Linked DNA regions of Homo sapiens: regions 2 and 3 are each linked to region 1. Evidence: promoter capture Hi-C in 16 types of primary human blood cells and fetal thymus (Javierre and others, 2016). All regions are on one chromosome and are shown on one strand. The core of a region is centred on a gene start or on the middle of the fragment in contact, and the rest is flanking DNA. Distances in the headings are between cores, read along the strand shown. Region 1 holds the start of CD244 (CD244 molecule). Region 2 holds the start of LOC101928372 (a long non-coding RNA gene). Region 3 has its middle 18 kb from the start of SLAMF7.

What was found. The method cuts DNA at HindIII sites, captures the fragments that hold promoters and counts their contacts. A CHiCAGO score of 5 or more calls a contact.
Region 2: a contact is called between a fragment that was not itself captured here and the fragment with the promoter of CD244 in region 1, in 9 of 17 cell types (M0 macrophages, erythroblasts, M1 macrophages and 6 more). The highest score is 8.9, in M0 macrophages.
Region 3: a contact is called between a fragment that was not itself captured here and the fragment with the promoter of CD244 in region 1, in 2 of 17 cell types (naive B cells and total CD8 T cells). The highest score is 5.1, in naive B cells.

The regions. Positions count from the first base shown.
Region 1 is chr1:160,861,526-160,864,225 of GRCh38, reverse strand. It overlaps CD244 (CD244 molecule), which reads left to right and starts at 1,339. Exons shown (of 9, transcript NM_016382.4): 1 at 1,339-1,609. The coding sequence starts at 1,549. RefSeq lists an enhancer at 1,474-1,523. The HindIII fragment of the contact is 2,100 bases long and covers 1,312-2,700 here.
Region 2 is chr1:160,929,803-160,932,502 of GRCh38, reverse strand. It overlaps LOC124904441 (a long non-coding RNA gene), which reads left to right. Exons shown (of 2, transcript XR_007066689.1): 2 at 326-857. LOC101928372 (a long non-coding RNA gene) reads right to left here and starts at 38. Exons shown (of 6, transcript NR_110695.1): 1 at 1-38. The HindIII fragment of the contact is 1,228 bases long and covers 667-1,894 here.
Region 3 is chr1:160,755,695-160,758,394 of GRCh38, reverse strand. No RefSeq gene overlaps it. Among named protein-coding and RNA genes, the nearest start is that of SLAMF7, 18 kb to the right of the region's middle. RefSeq lists a silencer at 1,234-1,303. The HindIII fragment of the contact is 1,098 bases long and covers 805-1,902 here.

The sequences.
Region 1 (2,700 bases), core at 90-2,589:
CATTTTTAATTTGATCCTGAAAACTGCCTTGTGAAGGTGGGGAGGATGTATTGTTGACCCTACAGGCTCAGACAGCAACAAGGCCAGAATCACATAGGTTGTAAGTTGCTGAATGGGAGCTGCAAGTCCAAGTCTTTGACTCTAAATCCAGCGCTCTGTCCAGAGCCCCGCTGCTGCCTCTGTTGGCAGCTGAAGCTGTCAGTCTGCTGCCCCCTGCCCAGTTCAGACAGGGTGGCTGGAAATGGACCAAAGGATGGAAAAAGAGAATAAGAGCGGACTTGAAGGGAACTGAAAGTATTTGTTAAGGGGAAAGCAGAAGGAAGAAAGAAAGAGGCATGAACCCTGGGGCCTGGCCTTGAAGCACAGTGTTCCAGGGGAGGGGGGATGCCGCTGTCCCCACCCCTCCATGGGGGCCTAAGCAGATCCAGAGCTGCCTGGCCTTCCTGGAGGGTGGCGTCCAAGCATGGATGGGAAGGCAGCAAAAATAGGCCCATGTCACTTCTGGGAGAAGACAAAAGAGGGAAGAGAGGACTACTATAGAAAAGTAGAAAAAGAGGAAGGGAGGGAATCTAGGCATACAGATCGGAAATGTGGAGCAAAACAAAATTTTTTTTTTTTTTTTTGAGACACAGTGTCGCTCTGTCACCTAGGCTGGAGTGCAGTGGCGTGATCTTGGCTTACCGCAACCTCCACCTCCTTTGCTCAAGTGATTCCCCTGCCTCAGCCTCCCAAGTAGCTTGGATTACAGGTGCACGCCACCCAGCCTGGCTAATTTCTCTATTTTTAGTAGAGGTGGGGATTCACCATATTGGCCAGGCTAGTCTCGATCTCCTGATCTCAAGTGATCTGCCTGCTTCAGTCTCCCAAAGTGTTGGGATTACAGGCGTGAGCCACTGTGCCCCGTGTGAAACAAATTCTTATGAAACAAATTTAATTTACATGTGCTTAAACTTTGGTGTCAACTTGCATGGAATCCCCAGGCTTGCTAGATTTTTCTAGTGCCTCCAGCCCTTAGGTCTCTTCCTATGTTCTCTCAGCTACTCCTCCTTTCCTTCAACACTGTTAGCCGCTTATCCAGGGCCCTACGTTTCAGCCCACTCCTCCTCCAGCCCCTCTCCACTCCACCTCCACAATGTCTGTTGGAATGGAACAGTTGGGGATACTGGCTGTTTGGCCCCCATGGGGGTCTCTCCATATAGGATTCAGAGAATTGGAAGACTTCTTGGGCTGAAGCAGAGAACGGGATGCAATTTTGAAACTGGCTTTGTGAGTCACTGTGAACTTCAAGCACCCTCCCACTTGAGGTAAGCTTCACCAGTTTGGCTTGTGGGAACTGTCAGACCAGCTCCAGGCGCTGGGGCTTTCTCAGTGGCCTTGTCAGCTCACAGCAGGCGTTAACAGCCTCTAATTGAGGAAACTGTGGCTGGACAGGTTGCAAGGCAGTTCTGCTCCCCATCGTCCTCTTGCTGACTGGGGACTGCTGAGCCCGTGCACGGCAGAGAGTCTGGTGGGGTGGAGGGGCTGGCCTGGCCCCTCTGTCCTGTGGAAATGCTGGGGCAAGTGGTCACCCTCATACTCCTCCTGCTCCTCAAGGTGTATCAGGGCAAAGGTAAGGAGGTCCTACCTGGCGTGGGGCGAGGGAGGGACTAGGAGCTGTGCCCCTCAGGGAGATCAGAGCCAGAGCCTCTGCTTGTGCCACATACACAGTCATCTGGAACTTGACTCCGAGCAGCTCCTGACAGCTCTGACAGTCTAAATCAGACAGGACAGGCTGGCAGTGCACTGGGAGGTCTGTGAGAGGGGTATCTGGCCCTGCCACCAGCAATCCAGGAAGTCTTGGGTGAGGAGATTCCTTCCCACTGGCTTCAATTTACCCTTCCGTGTAGTGGAGAGAGAAGCCTCCTTCCAGCCGCCTGTAAAGATGATGAAAATTGCATCCTCCAATTGTGGCATGAGAGAAGAGAAGCAGTCCCAAGGAAGTGGGTGGTTCTCGAGCTCAGAGACAGATGGATGGACCCCTGAGGCAGGAAAGCTGAGCCCAGGGAGGGGAGGGCGAGGCCAGCAGCCAGGAAGAAGCTGGAAGGCATGGTCCCTCATCTCCCCGGCTTCTTCAGCCATCCAGATGCCACAGGAGCCTGGAAATTATTAGGGACATGCAGGGTTGGGGCAGAAGAAGGAGACAATATGAGGAAGCTCCACAGCAAACCTAAAGCTGTCAGCCAGGCATGGAGCCATCTAACATTTACTCCTGGGGATCCCAGCTGAGGGCTGCTCCCCTCTTTCTCCAGTTCTGGGGTCCAGGATGCTCTGAAACCTGGATCCCGCATTTAATTTAATTGAATTAATTTATTTATTTCATTTTTAATTTTTATTTATTTATTTATTTTTTGAGACAGAGTCTCCTTCTGTCACCCAGGCTGGAGTGCAGTGGCGTGATCTTGGCTCACTACAAACTCTGCCTCCCGGGTTCAAGTGATTCTCATGCCTCAGCCTCCCGAGTAGGTGAAATTACAGACGTGCGCCACCATGCTTGGCTAATTTTTGTATTTTTAGTAGAGACCAGGTTTCACCATGTTGGCCAGGCTGGTCTTGAACTCCTGACCTCAGGTGATCTGCCCACCTTGGTCTCCCCCATCCAAAGTGCTGGGATTACAGGTGTGAGCCACCATGCCCAGCCAGGGTTCTGCATTTTAGATCAGT
Region 2 (2,700 bases), core at 31-2,530, 68 kb before region 1:
GGCTTTTCTTGCTTTGTGCCCCACTTAAAATTGGCCTAGATGAAAGCAGCAGGCTCACATGTTATATGTGTTGCTTTCAAAATCCAGAGACCAACCCTGACCCAGTATTGTTTTTCACCTTGGAAAGATCATTCTGACATAGAAAATTCACTGATATGGCATATTCTGCATATAGCCTGCCAATTCTTTGGTAATTCCCCCCACCCCACCAAATTTGGGCGGGCTTAGTGACTAAGTTTTCATGAAAAGAATATGGCAGAAGTGTGACCTCTGAGACTGCATCCTAAAAAATGATACAGCTTCTTCCTGGCTTTCTCTTTCTTAGGACTTGTGCCTTCGGATCCTGATTTATTAAGTGAGAAGTCCACTATCCTGAAGCTGCTATGCTGGAGAGACCATGTGAAAAGATCATATAGAAGTAGAAAGATGCCCAAGAAGCCATATATGCTTCTTTCTGTAGCTGTTTCAGTCTGCCCACCCAGGGATCGGACATGTTAGAGAAAGAGTCTTAAAGATTATCCCAACCCCAGCCACCATGTGACTGCAACCTCATGAAAACCCCACACCAGAACAGTGGTATCAGCTCAAACTTTGCAAGGGCTAGGAGACTGAGGGCAGCTGACCAGATTTATGTGATTGAGCCTAATAAACTGGCCTGAGTAAGCTTCCCTGGTTGACAATATTCTGCGAGTATTATCACACACTGGATGTCAGGAAATTAACACTGTCCACAACTCATGGAAAGGACAACTGGGAGTTCTGTGTTTAGAGCTTTCCTGAACTCTGCCCTATGTACCCCTTCCCTTGGCTGATTTTAACCTGTATTCTTAGCTGCAATAAACCGTAACTTTCCATGAGCACTGTGAGTTTGTCTTGTGAATTATTAAACTCACGGGTGGTCTTGGGGTCCCCCCAAGCTGACAATTAATGTCAGAGAGGAGGAGGATATTGGGGGACCCCAACCTTGCAATCGGTGTCAGAAGTGAGGGTGGTCTTGTGGGCTGCTCCTCTAACAATGTATCCAGCATAACCTTGATATGAAAATCTCACAAGAGTATCACAAGAAAAGATAATTATAAGCCAACCACCCTCATGACTGTATATGCAACAATTCTAAACAGGATATTAACAAACCTACATATGAATTTGAGAGGACATAAATGTTCAGATCATAGCATTGCTGAGCATTCTGTATGAATATAGACATAATTCAAGACCAAGACTGATGATTGCTATTGTGAGTTGAACTGTGTTCCCTAAAGTGGTATGTTAAAGTCCTAATCCAAGGTACCTGTGAATGTGACCTTATTTGGAAATGAGATTTTTGCAGATGCAACTATTTAAAATGCAGTTATAGTGGATTAGGGTGGGCCCTAATTCCAATATAACTAATATCCTTATAAGAAGAGAAGAGACACAGATGCAGAAACACACACAGATGGAAGGCAGCTGTATGAAGACGGAGGCAGAGAAGGGAGTTATGTGGCCACAAATCAATAAATACCAAGGATTGGCCAGGCATGGTGCCTCATACCTGTAATCCCAGTACTTTGGGAGGCTGAGGTGGGATGATTGCTTGAGCCCAGGAGTTTGAGACCAGCCTGGGCAAAAAATACAGTGAAACTCCATTTCTATCAAAACCAAAAGCAAACAAACAAAAAACCCAAGGATTGCTTTCTACCTGAAGCTGGATGAGGCAAGAGAAGATCCTCCTGCAGAGTCTTTGGACAGAGCACAGTCCTGCTGATGCCTTAATTTTGGACTTCTCACCTCTGAAATAGAGTAATTTCTTAAAAAGCCACCTAGGTTGTGACAATTTGTTATGGCAACCCTAGGAAACTGACACAATTGTGTCATTGTTTTTTTCTCTCTACTAGTTTTAAAATTGTAAGCTTTTTTTCTATCCTTTTAGTGGCTGCTCTAGAACTAACAGCAGGCTTCATGAATGTTTTCTAATCACAAATTTGTGTGTTTATTTCTTTTAAAAGCATTAATTGCGAGCCTATTATGTGCCAGAACATATTCTAGATGCTGGGGATATAGCAACAAGTCAGGTACACATTTCTGCCTTTCTGGAGATTGTACCCTAGTACCAGGAAATATACAATATGCTATAAAAATAAATAATAGAATGTCAAGTTTTTATTTATTTATTTATTTTTATTTTTTTAAACCAGGTCTCCTTATGTTGCCCAGCTGTTCTTGAACTCCTGGGCTCAAATGATCCCCCCGCTTCAGCCTCCCAAAGTGCTGGGATTACAGGCATGAGCCACCACACCCAGACTAGAATGTTAAGTTTGAAAAGTGCTATGGAGAAAAAGAAAGTTGAGTAGCGACATAGATATATTGGGGGTGGTGGTGGTTTACAACTTTAATAGATCTTTAAAGAAGACTTCAGTGAGAAGGTGACATTGAGGAAGGATCTGAAGAAGGTGAGGGATTGAGCCATAAAGTACCAGGCAGAGGGAATAGCAACTGCCAAGGTATTGAGATGGGAGTATCTTCACTGCGTTCAGGGAGCTGCAGGGAGATTTGGCTAGCAGAAGCTGCATAAGTATGGAGGAAAGCAGCAGGTCATGACAGCACAAAGGTAAGATGGGAGCAGATTGTGTAGGATATTGTGGGCCTTCTGGGCAAGACTAGAAGCCTTCAGAGAGGTCTGAGTAGGAGGGTAGCCTGATTTAACAGGATGACTTTGGC
Region 3 (2,700 bases), core at 104-2,603, 110 kb after region 1:
GACGCATAATAAGTTTTAATTGCAGGAAAAAATAACTTTTATAATTAGTAAAGACAAGCAGTACCAGCATTTATTTTAAAATAATAAATTTTAAATAAATTAATCAATTAATTAATACTGCCTAGAGCAGTAATACATATGAGCCGAACAAAACAAAACAAAACAAAACAAAACAAAACAACCCACAAAACCCAATTAGACAAAAGACAATCTTGGTCTCAACTACCTCATCTATAAAATGGTTATGTTTGTTATGAAGATTAAATAAATGTACATATGTATATACATGCACACATATATATATGTATTATTTAGAACAATGATTGGCAATTGTGACTGTACTAAACATTAAATATTATAAATGATCATGTTATGGTTTATCAACTCTTCCCTGTTGCTGGCTATGTTCTTGACAGATTGCAATAAAGAGTATGCTTAGGACTATAGTCAGAACTCCAAACATCTTTAAAGTCTGTCTACAAGTACATGAACTGAGGAGGCTGGAAGTTCCTCCTTCCATCTTCTTGGGATGAAATGAGAGGGAGGTGGGCCGGGCTGCATCCTGGGCTGCAGTCTGTGATAGGCTGTCCCCACCAGGAGGGTCTTGCTCATGGGTCTCCTCATGGAGGAGGATGATCCCCATGGGCCTGGATCCTCCTCATGGGCCTGGATATCTCTGAACATATGATGAACATTGCTTATGAAAAATTATTTGTAGGAAAATTGTGAGGCCTAAGAATGTTATTTTCTTTTAGTGATGGTCTTTGTTTGCTTCTGTAAGGTACTTGTGGGCACTCGTAAGCTTGGATCTCTTTAATCTAATACCAGTTTTGAGATTTTCTTGGCCCCATAGATGAATTAAAACTGGTGTACTTCTTGTTTACAAGAAGGATAAGTCTCCTAGGGTAAGTCTTTTGGGGTCCCAAGTCAAAAAGATGAGGGATTTACCAGTTCTCTAACCTTGGTAGCCCCAGACTCCAAACTTTGTCCTTCTAGTCCCAAGAGGCTATCAAAAGCAAAGGCCCATCTTCCCACCTCCTTTTCCAGATCAGCACACATTCCCAAGACAGTACTGAAAGCAGGAACCTCCTTATCCCTTAGATACCTCTTGAGAGCATCCTTCCCTCTCTCTGCATCCTACTATGCTTGTCCAACCTACCATCACCTCTCTCCTGGATAACGGTAAGAGCCTTCTGACTCAGTTTGCCTACATCCAGTCTTGACCCCCTACAATCTGTTTCCCATACTGCAACTAATGAAATTTTAAAAGTGCAACTCTCTCTGCTGGCCACACTGACTTTCGTTCTTTTAGGTCCTCTCACCACAAGGCCTTTGCACCTCTGGCTAGAAGGGTTTTATTTTCCCTTCCCACTTCTTGTAAGTAGCTCCTACTCATCTTCCGATCTCAGCTCAGTCTTCATCACTTTGGAGATACTGTCTCTGACCACAGGAAAATTTGCCATTCTTGGCTCCACACACCTCTCTTTCATAGCAGTCATCACTGCAACCATGTTATTTAAAGGATATTTGAGTGTTGGCCTCTGTCATTAGAATGTAAGCACCCTGAGGGCAGAGACCTCTGTTGTGGCCCACTGCTGTATTCCCTGAGTTCAGCATAATGTCCAGCACTTACTGGTGCTCAATAAGTACTGCTGAATGAATAAATGAATGAATGCATACATGATCAAATGAATGAGTGAAAGCCTTACTGAAATGGTACAGATACCTTCTTTACTTTCCACCAAGGTTTCAATGTTTACGAATTTGTTATTTGCACCTCACAAGTTGCAAACCACACAGTTCTGGAGGCTGCATGTAATGGGGCTATGAGGTGGTGTGACTTCTCACCCTGAAGAGCTGGTGGTTTCCTTTGCCTACTGGTTGAACTCATGAGGGGAAGCTTCTTTCTGCAACTAGCTTTGGGACAGAATTTATTGAGTGTCCAGAGACCAGATCTATTGGTCTCCCTAGGTCCTGTTTCAGTCACTGGTTTAAAAAACCCCAAAGTATGATTAACCCTAATTATTTATCATCTGAATGGGTTCTGAGGAGAGAGGGGAAGGCAGAACAGATGCATCCTCAGTCCCAGCATCCCCCTCTCCACGCCTCTGTCTTCACACACTGTGAAGCTCCCCTCAGCCTCCAGCAGCCCTCTCTGAGGGAAAGTCATCTTCTCCTCTGTCATTATGTGGAGGGTTTCTCCTTTCTCCCCACCCATTCTCACTCGAGGAGGTCTTTCCATCCTCCCCCACACCCTTACCATGAGGGTCTCAGACTTTCCCCTCAACCCCACGTAGTGAGTAGTGCCTCGTTTTTCTCACTGAGCACCTATTTAAAATTTCCTCTACTCTATTATGCAATACATACTTTCTCATTGAGGAATATTCAGAAAATGAATGAAAATAGGAAAAAACCAAGCCACCTAAGCTTTCACCCTCCCTAAACAACTGGTGTTACTATTTTGATGTTTTTTCTTCCAAATTTTTCCCTGTAGAGATTTTTTCTAAAACACAGCTGTAATCATATAGCACATTAAATTTGCATTCTACTTTTTATATTTGTGATGTCATAACATTTTCTAACTTGAAAACCCATAGTTGTTGTGTTGTTGTTGTTTTGTGAGTCAGAGTCTCACTCTGTTGCCCAGGCTGGAGTGCAGTAGCACAATTATAGCTCACTGCAGCCTCAACCTACCAGGCT